Regions from separate parts of the Homo sapiens genome. Here region 1 is linked to region 2. Evidence: promoter capture Hi-C in human tissues and cell types (Jung and others, 2019). All regions are on one chromosome and are shown on one strand. Each heading gives the region's core, a stretch centred on a gene start or on the middle of the fragment in contact. The rest is flanking DNA. Distances are from core to core; before and after follow the strand shown. Region 1 overlaps ZBTB40 (zinc finger and BTB domain containing 40). Region 2 holds the start of C1QA (complement C1q A chain).

Region 1 (4,839 bases), core at 993-3,492, 150 kb before region 2:
GAAGCAAGAGGGGATTTTTCTTCACTATTCGTTGTGAGGACTTGTTAGAGCTCTAGGAGGTAAAGCTCACAGAAGTGTTGGGGGACCCCTATGACTGAGTCCCCCCCAGAGTTTTTAACTCTCAGAGTTGTGCACACTGAGCCTCCAGTGATTCGATTGCAGTTCAGGTTTTCTTAACCTGGCACTTGTTCCTACAGAGGCGTTTGTTCATACATTTTTTTTGTTTTGTTTTGTTTTGTTTTGTTTTGTTTTTTGAGACGGAGTCTCCCTCTGTTGCCCAGGCTGGAGTACAGTGGCATGATCTGGGCTCACTGCAGCCTCTGCCTCCTAGGTTCAAGTTATTCTCCTGCCTCAGCCTCTGAATAGCTGGGGTTCCAGGTGCCCGCCACCATGCCTGACTAATTTGTGTAATTTTAGTAGAGACGAGGTTTTGCCATGTTGACCAGGCTGGTCTCGAACTCCTGACCTCAAGTGATCCGCCCGCCTCAGCCTCCCAAAGTGCTGGGATTACAAGCGTGAGCTGCTGCGCCTGGCTTGTGTTTTTTGTTCAATAAGTTGTGATTCTCTGTGTCTGCCTGTCTGTCTCTAATTTTAGGAACAGTGATTTGCCCTGTGACCTTTCTTTTCTGACGAATTAAAGAAGAGTTGTTGATTTTTCAGTTTGTTCAGTCTGTTTGCTTTTAGGACGTGGTGACTTCTAAGCTCCTGACATACCAGAATGGAAACTGGAACTCTGAAATATTTTTATTTATATTTTTATCTGTCAATTTCAGTGTCAGTAAATGTAGAAATGGTGGAGTGGAAAGAGAATCATCCATAATCCTCTAACAAAAGCAATTACTGGTTTTTTGACATATGTCTTTCCGCCCTTTTCTTAGCGTACTTTTTTCTTTTACAAGTGAGATTACATAATTTCCTCAAACATCCTCAAAGATAAGATCCTCAAACCCAAAACTGAACTAGATGTCTCTTCCCCTAAACTGTCTGTTCTTGTATTATCTGGATCATCTTATCATCCACCCATTCACCAAGCCAGGAACCTGGGAATTGTTTCTCTCTGTCCTTCACATCCATTCAGTCCCTAAGTCATGACAGCTATACTTTGCAATGTTTTTTTGGCTCTCTCCTATTACCAGTTCTCCTGCTTGAAGCCCTCATTGATTTTCTCCTGATCTCCTGCAATAATAGAGCCCGTCTCCAGCATTATCCCCCTCAAATTCTGTACACATGTTACTTAGGTGGTATATTTAAAATGCATATCTGACCACATGACTTTGCTGCTTAAAGCCTTTCAAATGCCTCAATGGCTGCTCATTGCTTTTAGGATAACCTCCAAGCTCGTAAGCATGGCCTATATATCCCTCTGTGGCCAACACCCCTGCCTGCCTCTCCAGATTCATCTCTTAACACTCCTATTCCCTGCTTTATGTTCCAGTAATAATCTCAGTTCCTAATCCTCCTGCCTGCTACCACGGGATGTTTTCTTATCTGCATGCCTCATGCAGGCGTCCCTGCCAGGATTGCCTTTTCCTCCCATTCTTTTTACCTCATCTGTGCGTCCGTATCTTTTAAGACACAGGTCAGCTGTTTTTCCCTCAAAGCTTTACTCTAACTCCTGGACTCTCCTATCCCCCAAACTGTGTTTGTGTGTACAAATCCATCATTATGTTGCCTTTTAGTTATTTATTCATTCTACCAAGTAATCAACAGTATTTGTGTTAAGCAGAATTTTAAGCACTGGGATACAGCAGGTGATAAAATTAAGTTCTTACCCTAATGGAGCTTACATTCTAGTGAAGGAAGATAGATAATAACAAATAAAAATATAGTATGTCAGTAGGCGATAAGTGCTATGCTGAAAAACAAAGCAGACGAAGGAGCGGGATGTTCTGAGGTTGGAGGGGAGGTTGCTTGTTGAAAAAACATGGTCAGGAAAGGCCTTACTGCTAACATGGCCTCTGAGCAAAGGGCTGGTAGAAATGAGCCAGCCAGCCAGGCACAGATATACTAAGCATGCTCAGCCCTGAGTCAGAGAACGCAGAGCATGCTTAGTATATTCCCAGGTCAGCAAGGAAGGCAGAGTTCTCAGAGCAGAATGGGTGAGGGGGAGAGTGAGTGGTAAAAGATGAGGTTAGGAGCCGATGACAGCCAGATCATGATTAAAGGCTTGCTAGGCCATTGTAAGAACTTTGACTTTTACTCTAAGACTGGAAGCCATTTAAGGCTTTTTGTGCAAAGCAGCAGCAAGATCTGGCTGTGTGTTAAGTAGATTGCTCCGCCTACTGGGTTGAAGATAGGATGAGGTAGGGGTAGCAGTAGGGGAGGATGGAGGCATGGAGGCTAATTAGGAGGTTGCTGCAGTAATCTAGGTAAGAGATGATGGCAGTTTGGACTGACTAGAGAGGAGCCAGTGAAGGAAATTAGCGGTTGGATTTTGGATATGTTTTGAAGGTAGAGCCAACAGGATTTATAAAGGATTGGATATAGCGTATGAGAAAAAGCAAAAGTCAAGGATGACTTGGTTTTAGTCTGAAGAACTAGAAGGACAGAATTGCTGTGAGGTGGGAAAGTGGCAGGAGAGTTTTGGATATGTTACGTTTCAGAAACCAGGTTCCAGTTGGAGATGTTGAATAGGTAGTTGGAGGTCTACATCAGGAGTTCAGAGGAACAGGCTGAGCCAGAGACATAAATCTGAAAGCTGTCAGCATTTAGATGATATTTCAAAGCTATGGAATCAGAAGAGAGGGAAGGTAAGAGGCGGGATGACTGGGTCCTCGAGCACTCCAAGCTTTAAAGGCTGCGCTGATGCAGAGGACTCAACCAAGGAGACTGGGAAGGCATGGCTAGTGAGTGAGAAGGAGAACCAAGTGAAAAATGTATTTTCAGAGGAAGAGAATGATGACCTCCGTCCCTTGTTAGGGCTAGACTGAATAAGCCAAGGACATTGTATTGTAAGTCTCCGTCTACATATTTATCTCCTCTAGGTGGCTGAGAGCTTTTTGGGAGCAGGAATGGTAGTGTAGTTAGAGCTTCGAAGTCAGTGAGATGGCTGTTTTTCCTTAGGGTGATTCTCTTGGTCCTTCAAAGCTCCAATCTCATCTGTAAAATGGGGAGGAAATAATATCTTTTCCACTGAATCGTTGTGAGAATCAAATGAGACCGTCCATACAAAGCATTATGCACAGTCTCTTTCATATATTTAAACACATAATGATAATGATCATTACTGATTTAGTATACCTGGCATACTGTCCCTTCCTATTAAGCAATATTTGTTGGATGAATGAGTGAAATGCCTTTCTGTTCATTTAGCGTTTCATTCAAGGCCTTTCCCTATGGTTTTTTGAAGTTTTAACCTGGTATTTTGTGGGTTTCTCTAGGGCCTGTCCTCCCAAAGCCAACTCTAAGGAGAGGAGAGGAAGAGCAGTTCTTGGGGCAGAGTTGACGCAATGGAGCTCCCCAACTACAGCCGGCAGCTGCTGCAGCAGCTGTACACTCTGTGCAAGGAGCAGCAGTTCTGTGATTGCACCATCTCCATTGGTACCATTTACTTCAGGGCTCACAAGCTTGTCCTGGCTGCTGCCAGCCTCCTGTTCAAAACCCTGCTGGATAACACAGATACCATCTCCATCGATGCATCTGTGGTGAGCCCCGAGGAGTTTGCGCTCTTGTTGGAAATGATGTACACGGGCAAACTACCTGTGGGCAAGCACAACTTCTCCAAAATCATCTCCTTAGCAGACAGTCTACAGATGTTTGATGTAGCTGTTAGCTGCAAAAATCTTCTGACCAGCCTTGTAAACTGCTCGGTTCAGGGTCAGGTGGTAAGGGATGTCTCTGCGCCATCCTCAGAGACATTCAGAAAGGAACCAGAGAAGCCTCAAGTAGAAATCCTTTCATCTGAAGGTGCTGGAGAGCCTCATTCTTCCCCAGAGCTTGCTGCCACTCCAGGGGGCCCTGTGAAAGCTGAGACTGAGGAAGCAGCCCATTCAGTTTCACAAGAGATGAGTGTGAATTCTCCCACAGCCCAGGAGAGCCAGAGGAATGCAGAAACCCCAGCGGAGACTCCTACTACAGCTGAAGCTTGTTCCCCCTCCCCTGCTGTGCAAACCTTTAGTGAGGCAAAGAAGACAAGCACAGAACCAGGTAACAGTCATTGTTTTATATTCCATCCTTCTGTTTTCAATGATCTTTATCAGTTTTAATGTTTGATTAATAAATTTATCAAAGACCACTGTTAGGTAGAAAACCAAAATTCAGTGCAGTACCGTACTGGGCCATTCTTTTAAAAGTGTCTGTGTTTTTGAACATTGAAAGTCCAAACATGAACTACAGAGCAGAAAAGCAGTATTGGAATAATGACGTACCATTTCGATAATTATCTGTTTCGTTTTGTTTTGTTTTGTTTTCTCTCGAGACGGAGTCTTGTTCTGTTGCCCAGGCTGAAGTGCAATGGCATGATCTCAGCTCACTGCAACCTCCGCCTCCTGGGTTCAAGCAATTCTCCTGCCTCAGCCTCCTGAGTAGCTGGGATTACAGGCATGTGCCACCACGCCCAGCTAATTTTTTGTATTTTTAGTGGAGATGGGATTTCACCATGTTGGCCAGGCTGGTCTCGAATTCCTGACCTCATGATCCACCCGCCTCAGCCTCCCAAAGTGCTGGGATTACAGGCGTGAGCCACCGTGCCCTGCTGATTATCTGCTATTTTAACCAGGCTGAGGACAGCACAAAGGAGGAAGCTGTGAGAGATACTGTTGTCTGTTATTCATAACTGATGTGCTAGACAGAGATCAGTTAAGTGCAGTATATGACCTGAAGGTGCTCAGACAGCTTAAA
Region 2 (4,150 bases), core at 1,651-4,150:
TGCTCATGAGAAGAAGCAGACAGATGTGGTCAGCCCAGGCCTGAACACATTGGTCTCCAGTCTGGGAGAGACAGAGCCTCTCTATCTAAAGAAAAGCATTCTCAGGGTCCAAGCTGACAATGATGCAGTGTGCCGTGCTGACAGGTAATGAGCATCCCATCAGTTAAGGTGAGTAAGGCTAGATGATCTGTTCAAACACTAGCAGCAATTGTCTCTAGATGGTAGAATTCACAGGCTTTTGTTGCTGGGTTTTGTTTTTTGTTTTTTTTTGAGATGGTGTTACAGGATCTTTGGGGTGTCATTTTCTGGCCGGAAACCTCTGTGGCTGGTGGCACCTTTGCCCAAGTTTTGCTCAGGCCCACTGGGCTTGTTTCACTCACTCCTCCTGGCAGGCAGCACTCAGCTCACATTACCAGCCTGGGTTCCACATCTGCCCAGGGCAAGTCAGGCATGGAACAGTGAAGGGTGTGTGAGTGAACATGGGGTCTGGCCACTGCACACAGTCAGACATGCCGGCTGCTGCAGCGGGGTGAGCAGCTCCAGGTGCCAGCATGGGCGCCAGCTCTCTGAGAGGTTGTGGCTAGACCAAGTACACCACAAGCAGCTTCCACAGCTGGCACCGGGGAACACGGTGGCACCCAGAAGCTTCGAGATGCCAGGAACCACAGGGCCCCGAAAAGGGAGTCACAGCTCCAGCTTGGGGAGCTCCCAGGTCTGGGTTCCCCAGAGGGCCGCAGCTCTTCTTTCCTTCCCTTCACCTGCATCATGGCAAGCAAGGGGCATGTTTCAGCCTTGTTTGTGTTACAGCTCTTTCAGCCCCACCATTTGATGGGTCCCAAGTTCTTATCCTGCAACCAGGAAGAATGAGGTATGCAGACAAGTGGGGAGTGAGCAAGACGAAGAGGAGCTTTACTGAGCGATAGAACAGCTCAGCCTCCTGCAGAGCCTCCCTCAGGGGGCAGCTCCTTTCCACAGCCAGGGTGTCCTGATGAGTGTTCAGCTGCTAGCAGAGAGGAGACCCTGGAATGGGAAGCTCCTCTCTGCAGGCAGGTCATCCTGTCGACTTTCCAGCTCTCAGAAGAGGGAAGACCCTGGAATGGGAAGCTCCTTTCTGCAGGCAAGTTGTTCTGCCATCTCTGCAGCTCTCAGCAGAGAGGAGGCCCTGGAGCGGGTAGCTCCTCTCGGCAGCTGGTCATCCAATGTCTGCCCAGCTCTGGCTGAGCCTGAAGCTTTCATGAGCCTCAGAGAGGAGGAAGTGCATACTGATTGGTCCATGGGTGGCTATAGGCAAGCCCAGAAAATACACCATAAGTTCCCACTCTGGTGTGTGGGACTGGCAGCCTGGCCCCCAGCCTTGAGGCCCTCCCTGGCTTGAAGGTAGGGCCTCACCAGGGACCCATCCCCTTCCACCCAGGAGCCTGTCTGTCTCCTGCTGCTGTTCATGGTGCCCAGGCTGTTCATGCCAAGGAGCGTCTGCAGGCCAGTGCCGAGCTGCCCTCAGTTTCCCCTTGGCTTTCCTTCCATGCTAGTCAGTGCCCAAAGTCCAGAGGGGGCCAAGGCAGCAGGGGTCTAGTGTGTCAGCACTGCCCCAAGCATGCCCACACCCAGCCAGGCTGCGACAGCACCCAGGCTCAGCACCAACTTTGCTCTAAGATCAGAGTGGGCGCCAAGAGGAGGGAGAAGCCAGGCAGTGGGAGCAGACACTTCTGAGCCTGAAGGGTGGGGCGGGGGGCCTTCCCGGGCCCCCAAGATTGCAGGGATGCCTGGGTCCACAGCTGCAGTTTAGGCAGCTGCAGCTGCATGGGGGATGGCGGGGGCCCCCACCTGCTCCATGAAGCAGGATCAGCTGTGGTTTGGCAGCTGCAGTGGTTCCCAGGAGGGCGGGGTTCCCACTGTCCCCAGCTCCCACTGGCTACATGGAGCATGCAGCCCTGGCCGTGCCTCCCTGCTGCAGCCAGTGTGATGACAGCAGCCATTCCAGACGGCCCGCCATTGCCATCTCTTTTTTTTTTTTTTTTTTTTGAGATGGGGTCTTGTTCTGTCTCCCAGGCAGGAGTGCAGTGGTAAGATCAAAGCTCACTGCAGCCTCAACCTCCTGGGCTCTAGCAATCCTCCCAGCTCAGCCTCCCAAATAGCTGGGACTACACAGGTGCATGCTACCACACCTGGCTATTTTTTAAATTTTTAGTAGAGATGGAGTTTCACCATGTTGGCCAGGCTGGTCTCGAACTCCTGACCTCAAGTGATCCGCCTGCCTTGACCTCCCAAAATGCTGGGATTACAGGCGTGAGCCAAAGCACCTAGACTTGCTGTTTTTTTAAATGTTGGCAAAAGCTAGTGACTAAGTGTTCACCATGTGCCAAGTGTTTTGTATGTGCAAGTCATTAAAATGTTATAATAATCAGATGATATAGGACCCCGTTCCCAGTGTACAGATAAAACTGAGGGCTCAGGAGGTCAAGTAATTTCCCAAAGACATGCAACTAGGAAGCAGCAAGTCTAGAAACAGATTGCTGTGCTTCCTTCTCACCAATGCACTGTTCTTTCTTCTTTGTATTTTCCAAGCTTTTGGCAATGAATTGCATGTCACTTTCATAATCATGAAAAGTCCTACAAGGGACAGATTTTTTTAAAGATTCCTTCCGCTCTGGTGTTCTGTGCTTCGCTGGTTCTCAGAACCTCACCCTGCACGGCCTCCACCCCACATCCTCACAGGCACTGGCCTCACTGCCCCCACTCCCACACCAGCTGTTGCTGGGGCAGGACGCCCAATGTCCCAGTCTTGCTGAAGTCTGCTTGAAATGTCCCTGGTGAGCTTCTGGCCACTGGGGAAGTTCAGGGGGCAGGTCTGAAGAAGGGGAAGTAGGAAGGGATGTGAAACTTGGCCACAGCCTGGAGCCACTCCTGCTGGGCAGCCCACAGGGTCCCTGGGCGGAGGGCAGGAGCATCCAGTTGGAGTTGACAACAGGAGGCAGGTGAGGCCAGAGTCCCAGAGGGAGGGGGCTGCAGAGTTCTGGGACCCAGGGGAGCTGGCCCAGGAGGCTGGGCAGCTGAGGCAGGGAGGGAGGGAAATAACTGTGCCTGATTCTAGGACAGGGATGGGGGTGCAGCACTGATCCAGGACCCAGAATGGGTGAGTGGAGGGACCTTAACTCCTTGAGCCAGGGCTTGGGGGAGGGTGAGAGGCGATGAGTTAGACCTAACAACTGAAGGGTAAGACCAGGGTTCCTGGGTCCTGGCCCCATAACACATAAGAAACCAGGAAAAGCCTGGGGTGCTAGAGCTGGCAGTGGGACCCAGCAGAGGGGACTGTAGGGGCAGCCAGTCACCCATGCTCAGGTGGATGCTGAAAGGCGCTGAGCATGCAGAAGAGTGAGCAGGTGTCGCTTTGGGCGTTTGTGAATTCCTGTGTGTATGCAGAGCTCCACCATCTGGGTGAGCCAGTGTTAATTAAATAAGGAGCAGGCGCTCAATACATATTTGTTCAATGAAATCGATTACCTGTGGGAGTGTATGAATGTGTGTGTCCGTGCAAGTGAGGGACAGGGTCTATTTGGGTATCAGTTGTGTGTCTAGGGGGGTATAGTGGATTTCTGAGTTTGCCTACTGTGTTTTGTAGGTGCGTGGATGAGAGCTGTGTTTGTGTGAGTGTGTGAAGATGTGGGTGTGCTCTGTTGCATGTGTGGATGTGTGTGAGTTTGTGGTTCTGTGTATATGCGTGGGGTCCTGGGGCTGGATTGAGAGTGGACATTGAGAGCCCCAGAGGGTGCATGTGCACTTGGGGAGGACTGTGCATATATCATTGTGTGCATGGGACTCAAGGGTGGGAGCTGGGTGTGAGTGTGATGTCCAACCTGCCCAGGCCCTCCCGTGTCTCCACAGAGGCATCATGGAGGGTCCCCGGGGATGGCTGGTGCTCTGTGTGCTGGCCATATCGCTGGCCTCTATGGTGACCGAGGACTTGTGCCGAGCACCAGACGGGAAGAAAGGGGAGGCAGGAAGACCTGGCAGACGGGGGCGGCCAGGCCTCAAGGGGGAGCAAGGGGAGCCGGGTAAGCACCCTTCCTCGGGACCCAGCCCCTTGGACCTTGGCCTGACTTGGCCTCCAGGGTGAAGGCTTGGGGTGGCACTGAGAATCAGGAGTCCGTCT

What was found. The method cuts DNA at HindIII sites, captures the fragments that hold promoters and counts their contacts. A contact is called where the count stands out against the background at its distance.
Region 1: a fragment that was not itself captured here is called in contact with the fragment with the promoter of C1QA in region 2 in 2 of the 25 tissues and cell types used here (adrenal gland and mesenchymal stem cells).

The regions. Positions count from the first base shown.
Region 1 is chr1:22,486,500-22,491,338 of GRCh38, forward strand. It overlaps ZBTB40 (zinc finger and BTB domain containing 40), which reads left to right. Exons shown (of 18, transcript NM_014870.4): 2 at 3,381-4,146. The coding sequence starts at 3,450. Among named protein-coding and RNA genes, the nearest start is that of ZBTB40, 37 kb to the left of the region's middle. The HindIII fragment of the contact is 3,163 bases long and covers 662-3,824 here.
Region 2 is chr1:22,633,728-22,637,877 of GRCh38, forward strand. It overlaps C1QA (complement C1q A chain), which reads left to right and starts at 2,901. Exons shown (of 3, transcript NM_015991.4): 1 at 2,901-2,975; 2 at 3,883-4,052. The coding sequence starts at 3,890. The HindIII fragment of the contact is 11,741 bases long and covers 1,898-4,150 here.